Linked DNA regions of Homo sapiens: region 1 is linked to region 2. Evidence: promoter capture Hi-C in human tissues and cell types (Jung and others, 2019). All regions are on one chromosome and are shown on one strand. The core of a region is centred on a gene start or on the middle of the fragment in contact, and the rest is flanking DNA. Distances in the headings are between cores, read along the strand shown. Region 1 has its middle 50 kb from the start of CARTPT. Region 2 holds the start of CARTPT (CART prepropeptide).

Region 1 (6,153 bases), core at 1,521-4,020, 50 kb before region 2:
AAAAATAAAGTTTGACCTCTACTTCACACCATATATAAAAGTTAACTCAGAAACAGTGACATGTACCTGTAGTCCTGCTACTCAGGAGGCTGAGAGGCAGGAGGATCCCTGATCTCAAGCTCAGGAGCTTGAGACCAGCCTGGGCAACATAGCAAGACCCCATCTCAAAAAGACAAAAATGAACTCAGGATCATAGGCCTACATGTAAAAGCTAAAACTGTAAAATTCTTAGAAGAAAGAATTTTACAGGACTAAATCTTCCTGGATTAGGCAGTAGTTTCTTAGATAAAACACAAAGCATGAAAAGAAAAAAATAGATAAATTGGACTTACATCAAAATTTAAAATTTCTGTGTTTCAAATGATACTGTCAAGAAAATGAAAAGAGAACCCACAGAATGGGAGAAAATATTTGCAAATCATGTAGCTGCCAAGGGACTTCTATACAGAGCAAAGGACTCTTACAACTCAACAATAAGAAGAAGACAAAGAGCTCAACTATTTTAAATGGGCAAAGAATTTGAAAAGACAATTATTTGGAGAAGAAATACAAATAACCAAAAGAACATTTTAAATGTTCAACGGCATGTCATTGGGATAAAGAAAATCAAAACCATTTCATACCCATCAGGATAACCACAATTAAAAAAACAGAAAATAGCAAGTGTTGGCAAGGATATGAAGACATTTTAACCCTCATACTTTCTTTGTGGTATTACAAAATGGCACAGCTGATTTGGAAAACAATGTGATGGTTTCCAAAAAATGTTAAACATGGAGCTAACATGATCCAGCAATTTCACTCCTAGGTATATACAAAAAAAAATTTAAAACATGTGTCCACACAAAAACTTGTCCGCAAATGTTCATAGCAGCCATATTCAAAATAGACAAAAAATGGAAACAATTTAAATGTCAATCAACTGATGAATGGATAAACAAAATGTAATATGCCACTATAAGAGAATATTATTTGTCTATAAAAGGAATGAAATGGTTGGGCGCGGTGGCTCACGCCTGTAATTCCAGCACTTTAGGAGGCCACAGCAGGCGGATCAAGAGGTCAGGAGTTCGAGACCAGCCTGACCAACATGCTGAAACCCCATCTCTACTAAAAATACAAAAAAAAATTAGCCAAGTGAGGTGGCGGGCACCTGTAATCCCAGCTACTCAGGAGGCTAAGGCAGGAGAATCGCTTGAACCCGGGAGACAGAGGTTGCAGTGACCAGAGATCGAGCCACTGCACTCCGGCCTGGGCGACAGAGGGAGACTCCGTCTCAAAAAAAAAAAAAAAAAATGGGAATGAAATAGTGACACATGCTACCACATGAATAAACCTTGAAAACATTATGCTAAGTCAAAGAAGCTAGACACAAAAGGCAACATATTGTAGGATCATTTATATGAAGTTTCAGAATAGGCAAATCCATACACACAGAAGTAGATGCCCAGGTCTGGATGGGTGGAAGGGCAGAGAATGAAGAATGACTGCTAATGGGTGCAGGATTTCTCTTTGGGGTGATGAAACTGTTCTGTAATTAGATAGTGGTGATGTTTGCAGGTTGCACCATTCCAAGTATAGTAAAAATCACCAAACTGCACACATATAAAGGCTGGATTATATGGTATATAAATGATCAAGTAGAGAACAATTAATATACAGTAATTTTTAAGCAGATACACATCATAGATAGAAAATCATAGATAGAAAATCACAGGTAGAAAATGATGTGCAAAGGAATTTGACATCACTTCTGTCCCTGGGTCATGTATTCATCTTTCTCAATTTAAAAAAATACTGAAGTCATTTCATTCAAGATAAATTATCTTTATTATCTACTCTATCAGATTTCTTTCAAACTGAAAAAACAATACATGCTTGTATTGCCGCTTATTTTCCAAGAAAAAAAAATCCTGAGTATCAAAGAAAAACCCAACATTTGCCTTTCCCGTGACTCTCACTCCTGCTATTATCCCTTCCTGAAAACAAGAAATGTTAATTTAGTGTCCACATTTTTCTACATTCATATGAATGCACACAACTGAAAATATTCACACCAATAAAAGGCTTTTCTGATTTTACAAAAAATACAATCATTTATATACATTTCTCTGCAATGTACTTTGCTGGTGGCCTTTCCTATCGGTCATTGCATATAAATCGAACTCCTTATTAGTAGCTATGTAATATTCTAGAAATCTGGACATGCCACAGTTTATTCAATCACTCCCTATTGATGGCATTCAAGTTGTTTTACTTCGCTTTGTCACATTCAATGTGTATCTTTATACATATCCTTATAAGCTAATTCTTTTATTTTTGTAGGATAAAATCCTCCAATATAAGTTTTAAAGACTCAGAAAATCATTACTCGGCTTGGCAATAAAAAAGTTCATTATGTTTCATTAAGCATCCTGCTTGGTGGAATCAGGGGAAAATGTATTTATTTCTCAGCACTGAATCATTACCCTCTGTACAGATTACTTTTGTTTGCAAATACATAAACAAAATACAAATTGCCTATGTTCACCAAACAAAGCTTTAAATTCTAGCTGCACCAGGGAGCAAAGGAGGTATGGTGAGAGACACATTTCCTGGTACAGGAAATGAGCAGCAGGGTGAGGAAGCAGCTTGAGGAAGCACTGCTGGACCAAGCTTCACCTTTGCCTGCAAAATCCCCCTGAAAATAAACACTCCACAGGGGTCCTGAGTGCAGGGTTACAGTTAGGTTTGGGATTAGGCTTAGGTGAGAACCACAAGTCCTTTCAGACCATGCTTGCCCTTATTTAGCTCTCCAGTTTGCTTCTCTTGGTTGGCTGGAGCAGTTTTTTCAAGAAGGTAGCGTGGATGGTGTGATTCCTGCGCCCATACACATCTAAGAATAACTTTCTATTGCCATCACACACAAAAGACAACTTTGCTTATTTTAAACTTTACTTGTCTCCCTCCAAATTCTGTAGATACTGAAGTTTTTTAAGCCTTCTAGCATATAGTGATTGTGAAGATAACACAACTTTTGTTTATTTGCTGGTGTCATTAGAAGGTATTTAAAAATACTCCCATTCCAGCAGGTGTAGCTAAAAAGAGAAAAGAAAAAAAGAAGGTATTTTCAAACCTCCATAATTGTGTGCTCTGCTCCCTGCATTTTTCCCAGGAGTATGTGTAAAGGGGTGTCCGTGTGTGTGTGTGTGTAGAATATAAATAAAGTAAATTAATAAATAAACTCTCTGGCCGGGCGCAGTGGCTCACACTGTAATCCCAGCACTTTGGGAGGCCAAGGCAGGTGGATCATCTGAGGTCAAGAGTTTGAGACTACCCTGGCCAACATGGTGAAACCCTGTCTCTACCAAAAATACAAAAATTAACCAGGCGCAGTGGCATACGCCTGTAATTCCAGCTACTTGGGAGGCTGAAGCATGAGAATTGCTTGAACCTGGGAGGCAGAGGTTGCAGTGAGCCAAGATCATGCCACTGCACTCCAGCCTGGGCAACAGAGCAAGAGTGTCTCAAAAAAAAAAAAAAAAAAAAACTATCATTAAAATGGCCAACAGCTAAACCGTCTGGTCTAATGCACTCACAGCTTATCTAAACTAATAAAATAAGGAAGGAAGGTCATATGAAATATGCCCACAGCAACATGATTATATCAGTAATTGTGAGTCTTGAAGAGCCAAACAGAAAGGCCACAGAAAATTAGCCTGATGTGATAATTTAGAGATCTGATTTTGCTATTCTCTTACTTTATGTTATTCAATGCCACCAGAAGCAGCCATCCTACCCTGTTGTTCCAGAATGTTTAAATTATTTTTTGCCATCAGCTACTCAGTTTTTCAGAGCACCACCTTCTGGCGCACATAGAGGGAACGTAACAGTTGTTTTACACTGTTGGGATACTAACCCGCAATATGAAAGCGAATTTTCCCCCTTTTCCCCATTCTGGCCAGTTTCCCCGCTCCTCAAAAATCTACCTTTCTCTTAGGGTATCTTGCCAACTGGAGCAAAAGTGGAAGTTATAAGCAGAATATAGGGGAACTTAGAACCTAGAAAAGGTAACCCAACAGGTTTGAAAAAGAAACAAGGGCCAATCCTAGAATTTGTAAGAAGTGATAAAAGACATTATGGCATTGCAACTAGGATGAATGAGCAGATACAACTATATTCTGTCATTTTATTGCTCTGCTAAAGTTTCAGTTCCAGAGAGACACTCCTGTCAGTCTCAGGTTGCATTCCCATTTCTTGGCAGGAAAGGACAAAATATCTTGACTTATGGTTCCATTGTAATGACTCAAGTAGAGAGGAGTCAGTTTCCCAAAATAGCATCAGAGTGCTTTTAGGAGAAAAAACTACTCAATAATTCCTGCAATTGACAGATAAATTATCTTTTCTAAATAGATTTATAGGACTTTTTAAAAATCTGTATAATTCAAAATTTTTCTTTGAATATATGTAGATGTGGATCTCTTCTGTTTTCATCTGAAATGCAGTGAACCCCTGCAGCCTGCAAACTTAGGTTTTATTTCATCTTTTATGATTGCTTCTATTCCATGTGTTATGCTGTCTTCCCTAGAAACACAAAGTAATCAAATGTTAGAGGTTTCATTTTCTCTCTTTCCTTCTGCTTGTGCATTTTTTTCTGCATCCTAGAAAAGCTTCTCAAATTTGTTCAGTACATAACTGATTCTGATTTACAGTTAGGTACTGATCATGTTATTGTGCTCTTGGTTTACTTGAAAGCCTTCCATATCTCAACATGCTGTCTTCTTTCAGCCTGTTGTCTCATCATGGTGTTATGTTCCTGTTTCACAACACAATGCCTCATTGAATTCTATTATTGCAGATTCTAAACAATCTCCTGTAATTTTCTTCTTGTTCCTATAGGCTCTTCAGAGATAGAATCTTTCTATGAGGTTCCAGAGTACTGTCCTTTATCCATTGTTCTGCAGTATTTTTTTACTGGGCTCATGTGTTGCTGATGTTTACTCGTTCTCAAATGAGGCAAAATCTATCCATACTCCTTGAAAGCTAACAGGCAGGTGGTATTTGCAATTGACCCCATTCTCTCTCTACTTCAGTATGAATCAAAGAATCCACTCAGGTCTTTAAGGGATAGACCAATGTGTCCTGTTCACAGTTTATTTCCCAGATAGTCATCTTGAGAAATGACCTATTGGTGAAGTAGCATCTTTCCCTACCTCCATGGTCCAGTTCTTCATGATAAGCTTCACTGTGACTTAAAATCACACCGCTCGGCAGTATCTCCCGGTACCTGGACCTTGTGTTTTAGAAAGCCCCACTCTGACATTTTTTTGGATTATGTCTGTCTCTACCGCAAGAGGAATCTGCAAGACCAAGGGCATGTGCCCACCCAGAGCCCTTCTAGACCACTTCCTAGATGCTCAAGAGCCTTGAATTCTCTGCCCAAACAACCCCAAGCCTGCTTGCAGGACCTGTACAGGCCTTGTCCATAGGTGCATCCTCCCAGGGGTAAACCACACCACTGGTATTTACACTCCCAAGCCCAAAGAATGTCCAGGGCAGCTATTTGCAGAGGCTCTGGACATTCCAGGTGGGGCATCCACACACATGTACTCAAAGATGCTTGCAATGAAGGAGACAGTGATGGAAAGGGAAGGGGGCTCAGGTGGGGGCCAATGAGCTTGGGCCCAGCCTTCTCCTAGCCACCACATTTCAGCATGAAACTCCAAGGAGTTTGAAAATTCAAAATTTGAGCCTGGCCTTCCAGACTATTTTGAAAGCGTATTTGTCAAAGTAAGTGTTAGAACTTATTTTATCTAACCTTGAACGCTCGGCCCCAGGTCCTGTAAATATTAGGGGTGACCTAAGGAGCAACTTCTAAGGCTCATCCTGCCTCCTCCCACTCACAAAGAAGCAGCTACTTAGTTCCAGAAGCTCTTCGTAAGTATGTGTGTCAGTAAGTAAAACATAATCAAGAAGGGTCCAAGCTTGCAGTCCCTGGATGGATTGCCATCACACTCATGTGTGAGCAGGGCTCCCGAAGCTTTAAAACTGGCTGTGCTGTTCTCTTTGCTTTACCTACACTCTATCAGGCATCTTCTAAAATTAAACTGTTGCATCCACATTGAAAATCTCCTCAGGCAGGTGTCATCCACACCACCTCCTTCTCACCGCCTC
Region 2 (5,690 bases), core at 1,652-4,151:
GATGTGCTTTCTGGGGAATTCAAAGCCCAGTCTGTTGATTGCCTAAGTGACATGGAGAAAAAGGACAAATCTTTGGAGTCAAAGGGATTACAGCTAAAATTATTATTTAGGATTATATGGTGTAAGCAAATTCCATAATTCTCTTGCCCTCTGTTTTCTACTCTGAAAAATAGTAATAATATCTATCTTGCAAGATTAGGCATGCTAATAATAATAATCACACTGAAAATGGTAACTGTGTATAAGAATATTTTCTATCAGAAAACTCCCTATGAATCCGTGGAGGGGCTTTATTTTTCAATTCTGCTATTATGCAAGTGCCTCTTGAGTTTGGATTAGGAAGCTGTTAACATTTATTTCTCTCATGATGCTGCTACTTAGATGTTACTTAGTCTGGTTTAAACCCTTGGAAATGTGACCTCAAATAAGCACTCAGAAATATTTAAAAGCTACTTAACTTTACATTTAATATGTTTTAATTTCTTGAGTTGAATTCTCACCTCCTCCAATTTTTATTTGTTCCCCTCAAAACTATTTTCTGAAATGACTCTTTCTCCTGGAATAGAGAATTTTTTCCAAGAGTGTGAATTTACTTGTGGGAATGAATGGGTCTTATAACCTTGGAGTCTTTAGACAAATAACAACCCTAAACAGCCCATATCTTTAAATCAATGTATATTTTCTAATAAGGGAGTTGTCAAAACAAAATTTCTAATTTTTCAAATTGCTTTTAATGTGACTAAAACATGAAACTGTTTATAGTTTATTGGTCTCACTGTTTAAAGTAAAGGGTCTGGCTAAAGGTTTTAATAAACAAAATTATATAACCTCAACTCCAACCATCTCCATCTCATTCATCTCTCTCTTTCTCTCTCTCTCTCTCACACACACACACACACACACATACACACACACATACACACACCACATCGCTGCAATCAAAGAAAAATAGAGTATACTAAAACTGGCTTGGCAAACTTCTAATTAACGATCAAAACTCCTTGGAGCTAAGGTGCCATTTTCCCAATAGGCTGCTATTTTTAAAATATTTTTCTTTGAAAACAACAGCATGATTAATCTCACCATTTCCACTTAAATTACTTATATGAAAACAGCAGTGCACTATGGGCAATTATTAAAAACACTTTATTATGTATAATTTGTACATGCTTCAATTTGTGTCACTTAGGGTGATTTATTTTCCAGGTTGTAATGACATCTACCGAGATTAGCTAGATCTAATTTTCATTCTGCCATGCCACATACAAAAATACAATTTTCAAACAAAGCTTCCCTTCTTTACACAAAGGTACACAAGAGTTTGTCAGACAAATAAAATAAGAATACTTCACACACGTATCAACACCATACAAGGCATTATTCTTCACACAGTAACATCTAATGTGTTCTTTTATTTTTGAAACAGCAGGAAAAGAGCCCTTTCCCTTCAGAGGAAAATAAAAACTTTATCTGTTGCTTAAGCCAAACTCCAGGGAGGAAGGTGTGGTCCTCTGGGGAAAGTAGAGGGATGGGGATGTATGGAGGAGAATGGACGCCCCTTCATAAGCACTTCAGGAGGAAGGAATTGCAGGAGGTTCCTCGGGGACAGTCACACAGCTTCCCGATCCTTGCCCCTTTCCTCACTGCACACTGCTCACCGGCGTCACACTGAAACAACAAAATGTGTGGTCATCGAGTATGAACAAACCCAGGTTCCCAACAGGCAAGTCTCACAGTCAACGCAATTTCTGTCTCTTGAAAGGGGCAATTGGACCCCATCACCATCACAAGAGGTCTACGTACAGTCAGATCTGAAACAGGGAGCCTTGTGCTTATAACCTCAGTGAGAGTACATTTTTTAAAGAAACTTACATTATTAGTTTTATCCTAGTTTCTTCCACCTTTAAGTGGCGAGGGTTGGGGGGCGTGGGAAGGGGAGCATCACATTTCCTGGCTCCTTTTCTTGCCCTCTCAGAGGGGAAAAAAATCAGACCTTTTTCCTGAGCAACAAACAATAGACTTACACTTTCTTACAACCCCTGTTCCTGCTTTCCCATTTCCTCACCCGGGAAGGAAGAAGGAGCCCACAGAATCCTGCAAGCCCATTACCTAAGTTATTTAGCCACATCCTACGGAGAAGACTGTGTGTACGATTCAAGGCGGTGTACTTTCTCTTGGAAAAACACGGGAAGGGAGTGACCACAAACCTTACCATGGGGACTTGGCCATACTTCTTCTCATAGATGGGAACACGTTTACTCTTGAGCTTCTTCAAGACTTCTTGCAGCGCTTCGATCTGCAACACACCGCTTCGGAGCCTGAAGTTGCCGCCTTGGCTGCGAGCCCAGCCCAGGTGCGCACTTCCAGCCCTAGTTATAAGGAGCCCCGGACCCACACGCACTCTGCGGTGGGACTCCGCGGACACAGGGAATGGTCGAGGGGTGGAAACTTAGCGGACGCTGTCCCAGGTACTGACCGCGGGTCTCTGAGCCGCTGGGGTCCCTGTTGCTCAGAGGGGCCGGGATGAGGGATTCGCTCAACAGACTGCCAGGAGCCCGTGAGCTCGAGACGCTCTTCGGATGGCAGTGGGTGCCTGGGCGTTGCGCTCAGCTCCCCGCGCCCTGACTCTGGGAATAGGAGTGGGGGTGGGGGGAGGAGGGAGGCGTGCAAGAGAAGAGACAAGGCGACAGCTCAAGGGGGTCGAGAGCGAGGGGAATACCGACCAGCTCCTTCTCGTGGGAGGCATCATCCACGGCAGAGTAGATGTCCAGGGCTCGGGGCTGGAGCTCGGCGTCCTCCTGGGCACGGGTACCCAACAGAGGTAGCATCAGCAGCAGGGCGGCGCCCAGGAGGGGCAGCAGCCTCACGCGGGAGCTCTCCATCGTTCTGAAACTCGTCGTTGCTGGGGCACCACGCGCTCCCACCTTTTATAGTGAGCCCGAGCCCCCGTGCAGGAAAGAGGGAGGAGGCGAAGAAGGAAGGGGGTGTGGAGGAGGGCCCGGGTCAACCGTCTGTAGGCAGCGCTCCGCCGGCGCTTGACGTCAATGCCCGCCGGGTTCCAGGCGCCTGGGAACGAGGCTCTGCGCACAGATGGGCTAGAGCGCAGAGAACAGGACCCTGCGCCCCCAAAGGCTGTCAGTCTCACGGCAAGGGATGCTCCCCGAGGGGCCTGAGCTGAAGCCGAGGGGCTAGAGGTGAGGGACGGGAAGCGGGAGGGGCCTAGGAAATGGAAAATGCCTTCGGGTCAATGCACAGGCAGGAGAGTCGTTTCCCAACACCTAGCAGTGGTGACAGCTGCAACATCCACCTCGCCAGCCCTGCCTTGCCTCGCACCCCAACCCCAAGTGTGGCGGTGAGAAGGGGGTGTTGCCTCCAGACAGCCACATTTGCTGAGCACCTTACTCTGTGGGGTAGGGGAAGCAAACATACTATACAAAAGAAAGAGAAATAGTGGCCCTCCACGTGATGGGTTCTATGATGGAATCTGTGTGACAATAGTTAAAAGAAGAGAGGGAAAACAGACAAACCCGGATTCAGCAGTGGTGTTGGAAGTGCAGAGAGCCAGGCTCTGGTTCCCATCCTGGCTACACCACGTAAAAGTTGTATGACTTTGAACAAAATGAAGAACCTCTCCAAGCCTCAGCTTTCTCTTTTGTAGATCTAGGATTAAAAAGATATACCTCACAAAGTCATCAGTAGGATGAAATGAGAGATTAAGTATGTCAAACTCCTGGTTCTTAGCTAAGCTTCCCTGTCCCTCCTTTTTGAACTTTGAGGCTGCCCAGGCAAATTTAACCATCCCCAGAACCTCCCCCCACCCACCACCAACCCTTGGTATCCAAGAAGCCTGTCTAGAAAGAGAGTAAAAGAGTGAAAAGAAAGACAGCTCCATGATTATGAAAATATCTCCAGAGATCAGAAGTCAATGGTGAACCAGCTCCCCAACAACTTGGGAGAACAATGTGGCTTTTTTAAAAGTTGAGATCCTTACAGCCTGAATGCACAGGAAAATTCCTGTAGGAAAAGCAATGCTTTCCCGCTTAGACCTGCTTGCTCACCTGGCTTCCTTCACCACACCATCTTTCCCTCAACTGTTCCTAAATTCATCCACTCTTCTCCATCCCCATTACTACAACCCAGTCCTAGACAGCTGCCCCAGTCAACTTAATGTCTACCACTTAATCCCCACCCTATCTTCTCTTGCCTTCCTCTACTCCATAGTTCACCACCAACCAGAGTATTTTTCCCCTTAAAATACACTAATGACTCCTAATCTTACTAAGCACTGAATCTAGATTCCTCATCCTGACTTGCAAAGCATTATATGATCTTCACCCCTCTCCACCTCATGTTCTACCACTCTGCCCCAGACTCCTCCACTCCAACCTCACATGGCCTTCTTTCTGGTCCTCTAGCAGGCCAATCTCATTCATACTTTGATGTCTTTGCACTTACCCCTCCTTGAAAGGTCTTCCTGTATTTCCAAAAGGCTCACTACTTCTGTTATTTAAATCTCAGTGTAAATATCTATGACTACTCAATCCAAACCATCTATCAATACTTTTCTCCCACAAATTTATTGCATAGCAGATTATGTGGGTCATTAAGATAGTTTAATACACAATATATGCCTGGTTACTTCAACTATCAAGTATTTAATTGGTACTCAAATACTCACTGGGAAGCAATTCAAGAAGTGATATCTCTTCTAATGAATAGCACACATATTAACAGCATCAAAATATTTTGCTGTGGGGTAAACCCAACTTGAAAATGTATCTAACACCTCCCTCAGCTCTGCCTTCCACACATACCTTTTGATTCTGCACAAGAAAACTTCAGTGGCAGCACGTTTTACTGTTAAAACCTTACAGAGACATATTGACACTCACTGCAAAAACCATCTCCAGTGATCTTTAAACTATTCTAAGCTTCAGAAGAAAAATAATCTCAAATAAGATTTTAGCCTATTCTTCCTGAAGGATGTAGATATTGTCAATGCAATACTTTCTCTCCAATTTTGTTCTACCCAGACACAAGTAATAACTTTCCCTTTGTGCTACTTCTATTGGAAAAAAATCCAAAGTTTAAATCTTGCTGAACTTGAGTTGGTGCTATCATTTTCTTATAAGGAAGGCACATTTAGTTAAGGGGTTAGGGAAAGGACTCTTGGAAAATCCTGTGAAACAAGCCAGGGGCATCTTTGTCACTTACATACCACAGGCTTTTCTTCATCTTGAACAGAATGACTTTATAAACTGTCTTTAGCTAGCATGGTATAGTAAATTCTAGGCTATCTTCTTCCCAAAGACAACTTTTATGTAAGTTAAAACTCAAAAAGAAACAAAAGCATGAGACATTCCACAGTCTTCATATTATGCCCTGTTAGGAGAATTTGTATATTCTTACTACTTTGTAATGACTCCATTAGGGGAAAAAAGCCCATCACTGATGCCCCAAGCAATTAAAATCATATGGAATTTAACTACTACTTCTCACCCCAGATATAGAAAAGGGAGGCAGGTCACCTCATGAAAGAGAAGCAATGGCCAGGATGGGTCTTTGGAGATTTAATGTGAACAAATCTCTCTTAATCATCTTTTCTGAGATAGAGTAGGCCTCCAGTCCTGCTCTTTGAAATAGCTCAAGTAAAGAAATCTCATAAGCAGACAGCCAAGAAACCAGTGCCA

Evidence for each region. Contacts are between HindIII fragments. The study calls those that stand out against the background at their distance.
Region 1: a contact is called between a fragment that was not itself captured here and the fragment with the promoter of CARTPT in region 2, in 2 of the 25 tissues and cell types used here (mesenchymal stem cells and spleen).

Annotation. Positions count from the first base shown.
Region 1 is chr5:71,765,963-71,772,115 of GRCh38, reverse strand. No RefSeq gene overlaps it. Among named protein-coding and RNA genes, the nearest start is that of CARTPT, 50 kb to the right of the region's middle. The HindIII fragment of the contact is 4,329 bases long and covers 606-4,934 here.
Region 2 is chr5:71,716,486-71,722,175 of GRCh38, reverse strand. CARTPT (CART prepropeptide) reads right to left here and starts at 2,901. Exons shown (of 3, transcript NM_004291.4): 1 at 2,724-2,901; 2 at 2,213-2,296; 3 at 1,131-1,668. The coding sequence starts at 2,882. The coding sequence ends at 1,561. RefSeq lists an enhancer at 1,877-2,763. The HindIII fragment of the contact is 5,473 bases long and covers 1-4,339 here.